Linked DNA regions of Homo sapiens: region 2 is linked to region 1. Evidence: promoter capture Hi-C in human tissues and cell types (Jung and others, 2019). All regions are on one chromosome and are shown on one strand. Each heading gives the region's core, a stretch centred on a gene start or on the middle of the fragment in contact. The rest is flanking DNA. Distances are from core to core; before and after follow the strand shown.

The links. Contacts are between HindIII fragments. The study calls those that stand out against the background at their distance.
Region 2: a contact is called between a fragment that was not itself captured here and the fragment with the promoter of RPL13 in region 1, in 17 of the 25 tissues and cell types used here (H1 embryonic stem cells, IMR-90 fibroblasts, adrenal gland and 14 more).

The regions. Positions count from the first base shown.
Region 1 is chr16:89,557,458-89,561,931 of GRCh38, forward strand. RPL13 (ribosomal protein L13) reads left to right here and starts at 3,225. Exons shown (of 6, transcript NM_000977.4): 1 at 3,225-3,255; 2 at 3,483-3,606; 3 at 3,770-3,911; 4 at 4,121-4,294. The coding sequence starts at 3,503. SNORD68 (small nucleolar RNA, C/D box 68) reads left to right here and starts at 3,973; the gene lies at 3,973-4,044. SPG7 (SPG7 matrix AAA peptidase subunit, paraplegin) reads left to right here. Exons shown (of 17, transcript NM_003119.4): 17 at 1-309. RefSeq lists silencers at 1,667-1,886, 3,428-3,697, 3,758-3,807 and an enhancer at 3,208-3,317. The HindIII fragment of the contact is 11,945 bases long and covers 1-4,474 here.
Region 2 is chr16:89,301,464-89,305,937 of GRCh38, forward strand. ANKRD11 (ankyrin repeat domain containing 11) reads right to left here. Exons shown (of 13, transcript NM_013275.6): 4 at 3,743-3,881. Among named protein-coding and RNA genes, the nearest start is that of ZNF778, 86 kb to the left of the region's middle. The HindIII fragment of the contact is 5,718 bases long and covers 1-4,474 here.

The DNA.
Region 1 (4,474 bases), core at 1,975-4,474:
TTGCACGACCGCCCCAGTTCCTGTGGCTCCCTCGGAATGCTAAGGGGATCGGACATGAAAGGACCCTGTGAGCCGATTGTCCTATCTCCAGCGGCCCTGTCATCCAGCTCACTCATCAATGGGGCCAGTCAGGCCCAGGCACTGGGCTCCGGAGGACTCACCACTGCCCCCTGCTGCCATGTGGACTGGTGCAAGTTGAGGACTTCTTGCTGGTCTAGTCACGCATGCAGTGTTGGGGATGCCTTGGTTTTTACTGCTCTGAGAATTGTTGAGATACTTTACTAATAAACTGTGTAGTTGGAAAATCTACATTTGCATTGTCTGGCCAGCTCTAATGCAGAGGAGCTGGTGGGCTTGCCCTGGATCACAGGGTCTTGTGGTTTCAGTTTATAATTTGAGTAATGCAGGGACTAAGTGAAAAACTCCTTCTGTAGGAATCTGGGGCCTGGACCCCGTAGGGATAGAAGACGACCCAGGACACCCTGGCCCTGAGTTCCGGGGCATGCGGCTCCCACTCCGGCCCCCTTGCTTCTGCCCTCCCTGTGGTGCAGTGACGTGAGTGGATTGTCCTCTTGTTGCTGCAACACTGAAACGCTGGCGGAGCAGTAAGGAGGCAGCCACAGGTGCAGTCACACACCCGAGGGTGGCATCTCTGAGAGATGCCTTGACCTTTGCCCCAGTTCTCCAAATCCAAAGACCAGCACATCGATGGGAGGGTTTTAGCTGGTGTAGCCAAGGGTAGTGTCCTCGGTAATTGTTTTTTTTTTGCTGTTGTGTTGGTTTTTGGCAGAGTCTTGCTCTGTCGCCCAGGCTAGAGTGCAGTGGCGCCATCTCGGCTCACTGCAGCCTCGATCTTCTGGGCTCAAGCAATCCTCCTGACTCAGCCTCCCAAGTAGCTGGGACCGCAGGCACGCACCATTATGCCCGACTAATTTTTGTACTTTTTGTAGAGACAGGGCTAGACTCGAATTTCTGAGTTCAAGTGATCCTCCTGCCTTGGCCTCCCAATGTGTTGGGATTACAGGTGTGAGCCACTGTGCCAAGCCTTTTGTGAAATTAATTTATTATTTTTTAATTATTATTTGTTTTTGGAGATGGAATCTTGCTCTGTAGTCCAGGCTGGAGTGCAGTGGCACGATCTTGGGTCAGTGCAACCTCCGCCTCCCGGGTTCACGCCATTCTCCTGCCTCAGCCTCCCAAGTAGGTGGGACCACAGGCGCCTGCCACCACGCCCGGCTAATTTTTTGTATTTTTAGTAGAGTCGGGGTTTCACCATGTTAGCCAGGATGGTCTCGATCTCCTGACCTCGTGATCTGCCTGCCTTGGGCTCCCAAAATGCTGGGATTACAGGTGTGAGCCAGCACGCCCAGCTCTTAAATTTTTCATTTTTGAGACGGAGGCTTAACTCTGTCACCCAGGCTGGAGTGCAGTGGTGCAGTCTCGACTCACTGTAACCTCTGCCTCCTGGGTTCAAGTGATTCCCCTGTCCTACTCTCTGGAGTAGCTAGGATTACAGGTGTACACAACCACACATGGCTAATTTTTGTATTTTTAGTAGAGGCGGGATTTTGCCATGTTGGCTAGGCCGGTCTCCAACTCCTGACCTCAGGTGATCCACCCGCCTCGGCCTCCCAAAGTGCTGGGATTTACAGGCATGAGCCACCGTGCCTGGCCTGTGAAATACTTTTTTTTCTTTTTGAGACTGAGTCTTGCTCTGTTGCCCAGGCTAGAGTGCAGTAATGTGATCTTGGCTCACTGCAACCTCTGCCTCCCCAGTTCAAGCAATTCTGGTGACTCAGCCTCCTAAGTAGCTAGGATTACAGGCATGCGCCACCACGCCCAGCTTTTTTGTATTTTTAGTAGAGACAGGGTTTCACCATCTTAGCCAGGGTGATCTCAAACTCTTGACCTCGGCTGATCCGCCCACCTCAGCCTCCCAAAGTGCTGGAACTGTGAAATTCTTAAAATGTGGATTACGTTGGCCAGGCACGGTGGCTCACGCCTGTAATCCCAGCACTTTGGGAGGCCCAGGCGGGCGGATCGCGAGGTCAGGAGATCGAGACCATCCTGGCTAACACAGTGAAACCCCGTCTGTACTAAAAATACAAAAAATCAGCTGGGCGTGATGGTGGGCGCCTGTAGTCCCAGCTACTTGGGAGGCAGAGGCAGGAGAATGGCGTGAACCCGGGAGGCAGAACTTGCAGTGAACAGAGATCGCACCACTGAACTCCAGCCTGGGCAACAGAGGGAGACTCCGTCTCAAAAAAAAAAAATAATAATAAGTTTTACCAGGAGGAAGCGTGGTGATTGGGTGAGGGTAGGGAAGAAAGAGGGTTATTGGGATTTAAAGGTTTCCAGGTAGCAGTAAGATGGATGGTGCCTTCACAGACTTATACTAGAGAAGAGATGGCTTTTTGTTGATGCTTTTCTTTGTGAAGGAAGGCAGTAGGCACAGCAGGTCAGAGTGTGACATTTTCAGTCGGGTACCCCTGACCTTAGAGAAGTCACCTAATCCTGGGCCAAGGGAAAGCGACAGAGGCCAACAGTAACTCCGTCTACTAAAATACCAAAAATTAGCAGGGTGTGGCGGCGGGCGCCTGTAATCCCAGCTACTCGGGAGGCTGAGGCAGAATTGCTTGAACCTGGGACGCGGAGGCTGCAGTGAGCCGAGATCGCGCCATTGCACTCCAGCCTGGGCGACGGAGCGAGACTCCGTCTCCAAAAAAAAAAAACAAAAAAAAAAACCACAAATGTTCTAAATGGATGGGAGGAGAATAAACGCTGGAACGACAAGGACGAAGGCCTTAGGTTGCGCAAACTCGGATGTCACTGAAGTTTTTCTGCCTTTGCGCTGCAAACGTGTCTCACAAATGTGAACAAACAGAATTCCTCGGGCGTCGCCCGTTCGCCGTCGGCCCAGATACCGGACTCGCGCGCGTTAGCCCGCAAGACAGGACTCGGCCGCGGCCCGCGCAGCGGCTGAAGCGCCGGGGCAGTAACGGCGGACGTCAAGCAAGTCCGGCCGTCGGTTACTCAGGGCCCAGGAATCACGGCCGCCCCGCCGCATTCTCAGCGGCAACATGTCTGCGACGGCGGCCCTAGGGCTGCCGGGAGAGCCGCGGCGACGTCAGTTCCTCCTTTCGGGGCTCTGATTGGTCAGAGCGCCCGGCGCTTCTGGTTGGCCGGCCCTGCTATCATCCCAGAGTGCATTGCGGGGCCGCTTCCTTTCCGCTCGGCTGTTTTCCTGCGCAGGAGGTGAGGGAGACTGGGTCCTGGCCTTTGGGCATCATCCAGCGCCATCGGCCTGGCGCTTCAGCCAACGCGGGAGTGGATGGGCCCCTTCTTCTTCGCAGACAGCGTTCGGCCGCTGCCCGGGCTCTAGGCGCGGCCGGACGGCCCAGTCTGGAGGGTTCGGGGCGGAGGCCCGGGGGGGTGCGCGCGCCCGGGGTCCGGCCTCTCACTCGCTCCCCTCTCGTCCGCAGCCGCAGGGCCGTAGGCAGCCATGGCGCCCAGCCGGAATGGCATGGTCTTGAAGCCCCACTTCCACAAGGACTGGCAGCGGCGCGTGGCCACGTGGTTCAACCAGCCGGCCCGTAAGATCCGCAGGTGAGCCCTGCGCTCGGGGCTGCCCCTGGGGCTCGTGCCCGCGGCTGCGCCTTGGCTTGCGGGTGGCCGATGCCAGGGCGGGGGGCGCTGTCTGCAACCGTCGCGGAGCGCTGGCCTGGCGGCCTTAGGCAAGGGTGACCGCCGCTGCGCTTCTCTCCACCAGACGTAAGGCCCGGCAAGCCAAGGCGCGCCGCATCGCCCCGCGCCCCGCGTCGGGTCCCATCCGGCCCATCGTGCGCTGCCCCACGGTTCGGTACCACACGAAGGTGCGCGCCGGCCGCGGCTTCAGCCTGGAGGAGCTCAGGGTGAGTACTGGCAGCGCTGCGGTGTCAGGAAGGCCCCGAAGTCCCCTCTGTTGGCCTCAGTCGCGTGATGACATTCTCCGGAATCGCTGTACGGCCTTGATGAAAGCACATTTGAACCCTTTTCCATCTGATTGCTGAGGCTTTTCATCCAGGCCTCGGGGCTGGAGAAAGCCCGGGCCTGTCTCCATCTCTCTCTGGTTCTGGGGCAGGTGGCCGGCATTCACAAGAAGGTGGCCCGGACCATCGGCATTTCTGTGGATCCGAGGAGGCGGAACAAGTCCACGGAGTCCCTGCAGGCCAACGTGCAGCGGCTGAAGGAGTACCGCTCCAAACTCATCCTCTTCCCCAGGAAGCCCTCGGCCCCCAAGAAGGGAGACAGTTCTGTGAGTACACGGCTCTCTGGCCGTCCTGGTGCGCGGGGACAGTGAGGCTTGGCTCCTTTATCAGTGACACCGGTCCCTGGGTCTTGCTGGGGTGAGAAGAACCAAAACATTGTGGGTGATGAGCTAAGCGGGACTGCTAAGGTTCACCTGTGCGTTTCCGCAGAGATAACCTTAATGGAC
Region 2 (4,474 bases), core at 834-3,333, 260 kb before region 1:
CAGGCAGAGCAGGGCAGGCAAGATGGGCTAGAAGTCCCAGGGCAAGCTGGTCTGAGAGGGCTCGGTGGGCAGAGCTGTCTTGGGGCCGGGACATGGCAGGTGCCTTCCCACTCCTTGCTGCACCCACAGCCCTTACAGAGGCCTGGTCCTAGGACGGGCTCTTGCCCAGCGCTCTGGAAGACACAGAGGTGATGCTGTCACATGCTCACGTCTGCCTGGACAGCCTCCAGGCTGCTGTGCAGGGACCACGCGGATGCACAGCCTCGGGGACTGCTTTAAACTGGGCTGATTCACAACAGACAGAATCACATTGTTCTTGGCAGGCGGCCCCCAGCCCTGACTAAGCACCGCAGAGGCCACATCTCCATGGCACTGGACCGCGGGCAGGGCCGACTCAACCCTGCATCTGGGAGGCGGGAAGCCATCCCCACAGCAACATGGAGGTCTCTGAGGGAGACGTGCCAGCCTCTGCCACTTGGACACAGCCAAGGCATCCGGCACGGTGGTGACCCTGCATCCCTCCCACCATAGCAAGGGGCACCCACACCCCTCCAGAGAGGCCTGACTGCTGGGGACCAGAGAAGAGTCTCTTGTCTGTCACGTGTCAGTTAACCCTGCACCAATGTTTCTCTTCTCATCCCTGCTGGTGTGCGCCTCTCCCTCCACCCCACTCATTTCTGAGCAAGAACGGCTCCTCTGGGGGAAGGAGGGGACGCGGCGTGTGTGAGAGCCACAGCGCCCAGCAGCCTCCCGGCCCAGGGTGGGGCTGAACGCACTGGAGTTGGACTCGCTACTATTTATTTATTTAGAGACGGAGTCTTGCTCTGTTGCCAGGCTGGAGTGCAATGGCGCAATCTTGGCTCACTGCAACCTCCACCTATTGGGTTCACGCAATTCTCCTGCCTCAGCCTCCCGAGTAGCTGGGATTACAGGCACCCGCCGCCACACCTGGCTAATTTTTGTATTTTTAGTAGCGACAGGGTTTCTTCATGTTGGTCAGGCTGGTCTCGAACTCCTGACCTTGTGATCTGCCCGCCTCGGCCTCCCAAAGTACTGGGATTACAGCCGTGAGCCACCGCGCCTGGCTGTGGACTTGCTACTTTAAGAGGGTCCTGGTTAAAATGCAAGCTTCTAGGATAAGCAACGCTCCACACTCATACATCAGAACAATCTTCCTAGGAAATCTAGTTTTGCAACATTAAACAAGAAGTTATTAAAATTGGCCCCGAAAGGGTGATAAACACAGGAGGACAAATACTACGTTTCTTAGGTCTTTTTGTTACAATCCTTGCCTGGAAAATTCTATTTTCAAAATGTTCTTTACTGTTTTCCCACCTCACAGGGATTCTCACCTACCCTGTCCTCACCTAGGCCTGCCCCTCACAGAGTAAGGACATGGTGTTCAACACGCAGTTCCAGGAGCACCCAGGGCTGTGGCAGAAAATATCCCAGAGACCCACAGAGAGCGAGAATGGCCTCAGTGGGCCAGCACGGCTGGCACCACGCAGGCGCTAACCATCAACAGACAGACCCCGGAAGCTTCTGACAACACAACAGGGCCCTGGGTGAGAGCTTCTCTGCACCATGATGAAACGGCCACCACAAAGAGACCTGAGCAGCCAGATGGGGTGGGCACCAGGTAGCCCTGGGAACGCCACCTTACCAAGTGGGATCATTCTCCCAGGAAGCAGAAGCAGATGCTTGTCTCATTAACCCTTTCAGCAACACCTCCAGAGACATCACAGAAACACCTCAAAGGTCTGAGGCCAACTCCCGCATGGCCACTGTGCAAAGAGCTAACAGCTACGTATCAACATGACGGCCTTCTACAACCAAAACCAGCATGGGGACCAAAGACGGCAAACACAGGGTTTCAGGCCTGGACTGACTTTCTCTAGGCCTAAAGCCCGAGAGTACACAGCACCGCTGGGAGCTCCAGGGAGTCACCCAGGCCCTCCCTTCTGGGGGCTGAGGTCCCTTACACAACCCATCCACACATTCTGTCCACTCACTTCCCCGTGTCTCCCAGTGTTCTTCCTCGGAGCTGTCCGCTGCTGGGAAGAGGAGTCCTCCTGGGCCTGTGCTGGTGTCCCTGCAGCCTTCCTGTCCCCAGATGTGCTGGCCCAGAGACAGGAGCCATGTGCCTGGCACTGCACCTGCCCCTCACTTCCCATCTGGGAAAACCAGCCCTCTCTGCTGGCCTTTCACTCAGCAGAGTCTCCACCTGGCTACTGTGAGCACATCCCTGGAGCACCCCACATAGGACAGGAGGGGCCACAGGCCTGCGGCAGCCACACAATCATAAAGGCTGAAGCTTGCTGAGCTGTGCTGACAAAAGCTGGGGTGTGGATCCTCTTTACTGGCTGTGCCTGCTGCCGTTCCTCTTCAACAATCTCCTTCGTATCACGAGCTCTTCTCACCTGGACCACTTCCCCCATCTGCTCTCAAGCCCGCATCCTGGCACAGCCTCTACGCCTTGTGCTATGGCTGCATTCAAGAAGTCTCAGGAAGCCAGGGACAGAGCCGAGGGCCTGACTCAGCACTCTCCCGGTTCACTCCAGGCTTTGTGGCCAGCTTAGTGCTCTACTGCCTCCAACCTTCCCCAGCAGGGCTGTAGAGAAGCTGGATGACCAGGAGGACAAGGAGGCCTCTGGACACAAGAATCACCAAAGAGCAAGCACGGCCAGCGCAGAGGCCTCTGGGCTCCCTGCAAGCAGCTCAAGACAGAATCCACTGGGAAGGTGTCACTGCAGAAGGCGCTGACCCCACCAGGAGCGTGTGCACATGAACACACATGGGCTTGCACACGGGCACACAGGCATGCACACATGGGCACACAGGCACACACGTACACATGGGCACACACAGGCATGCACACACACACGGGCGCATACACAGGCATGCACATGCACACACATGCAAACGCACACATGGGCATACACACATGAGCGCACATATATACAGGCACACACAGGCACACAAAAGCATACACATACTCAGGCACACATGGGCACACATACACGGGCATAGACGGGCACGCATACACAGGCACACATACAGGCACACACATGGGTACACACAAGCACATACACGGGCACACACATACATGGGTACATACAAGTACATACACACACGGGCACACACACGGGCATACATACAGGCACACACATGAGGGCATGCACACAGATACACGGGCATGTGCACATGGGCACACATACACACAGGCATACACACTTGGGCACACACTCTGGCACAGGCACACAGCACACACATTCCTGCTCTGCAGCCTCAGACCCCGCCTGTGCTTGGGAAGACCTCCCTGCCTCCTGCTCACTTTTAGGGCTCCCTTTGGTTTTTACTACAAGCAATGGAGTTTCTTCCTGTGCCTTTGTGGCCCTGAGGGGAACCACTGTCTCCCTCCCGTGTCCAGCTGTCAGAAGACCCACAGGTGAGCAGCCCCATACCTCGCCCAGGGCTGGACATGCACCGGGTGCATCTCCACGTGTGTGGGACCCAAGAGTGAAGCTCTCCAATCGGCCCCATGGGCCTGAGCCTCGGGTGCAAAGGAGGTGGCATGTGGGGGCCTGTGCTCCGCCCCTGCTGCCTCTTGCCTGGACGGCGTGCAGGGTGCTAGAGTGCGTCCCAGTGCAAAGCCGGAGGTGCGGGGGCCAGGGACGCCCTGCCTGGGCTGCTCCGGGCTGCCTGTGGAGGGCTGACTGCAGGAGGGGCCGCGGGCTGGTACCTGTGTCCGAGTCCTTCTGCTCCCCATTGGCGCCCGCGGTGAAGGGCAGCTTCCGCTTGCTGGCTCGCTCCCTCACCTCCTTCCCGCCATCGCCACGCTCCAGTTTTGGGGTCTTGGTTAGAGAAACTTTATCTTTATCCTAGAAAAGAAAGGGATGCTTTCAGTCGTGATGTCCAAATTACATTCTCAAGCTCTCAAGATTTTGTTTCATATGCCAGGAGAAGCGCATCTCTTATTTGGGCAATGAACACCCTCCCTGCACCCCAGGGCGTGGCTGTGTGAGGCTGGTCACCGACCGCAGAACCTTCACCCAGAAGCCCGGGGTCGGGCTGTGGCTCAGCCCTGACTCTGGCCCATTTCTCATCCTGCGCACCGGAGGGACGCTCAGGAAATCGCTGGTGTGTGTGGAGAAAGCAGAGGAGACACACACGCGCTACCTCTCACTCCGCAGACACGCGCTACCTCCCACTCCGCAGACACGCGCCACCTCCCACTCCGCAGACACGCGCCACCTCCCACTCCGCAGACACGCGCCACCTACCTCCCACTCCGCAGACACGCGCCACCTCCCACTCCGCAGACACGCGCCACCTCCCACTCCGCAGACATGCGCCACTTACCTCCCACTCCGCAGACACGCACCACCTCCCACTCCGCAGACACGCACCACCCACCTCCCACTCCGCAGACACGTGCCACCCACCTCCCACTCCGCAGACACGCGCCACCCAC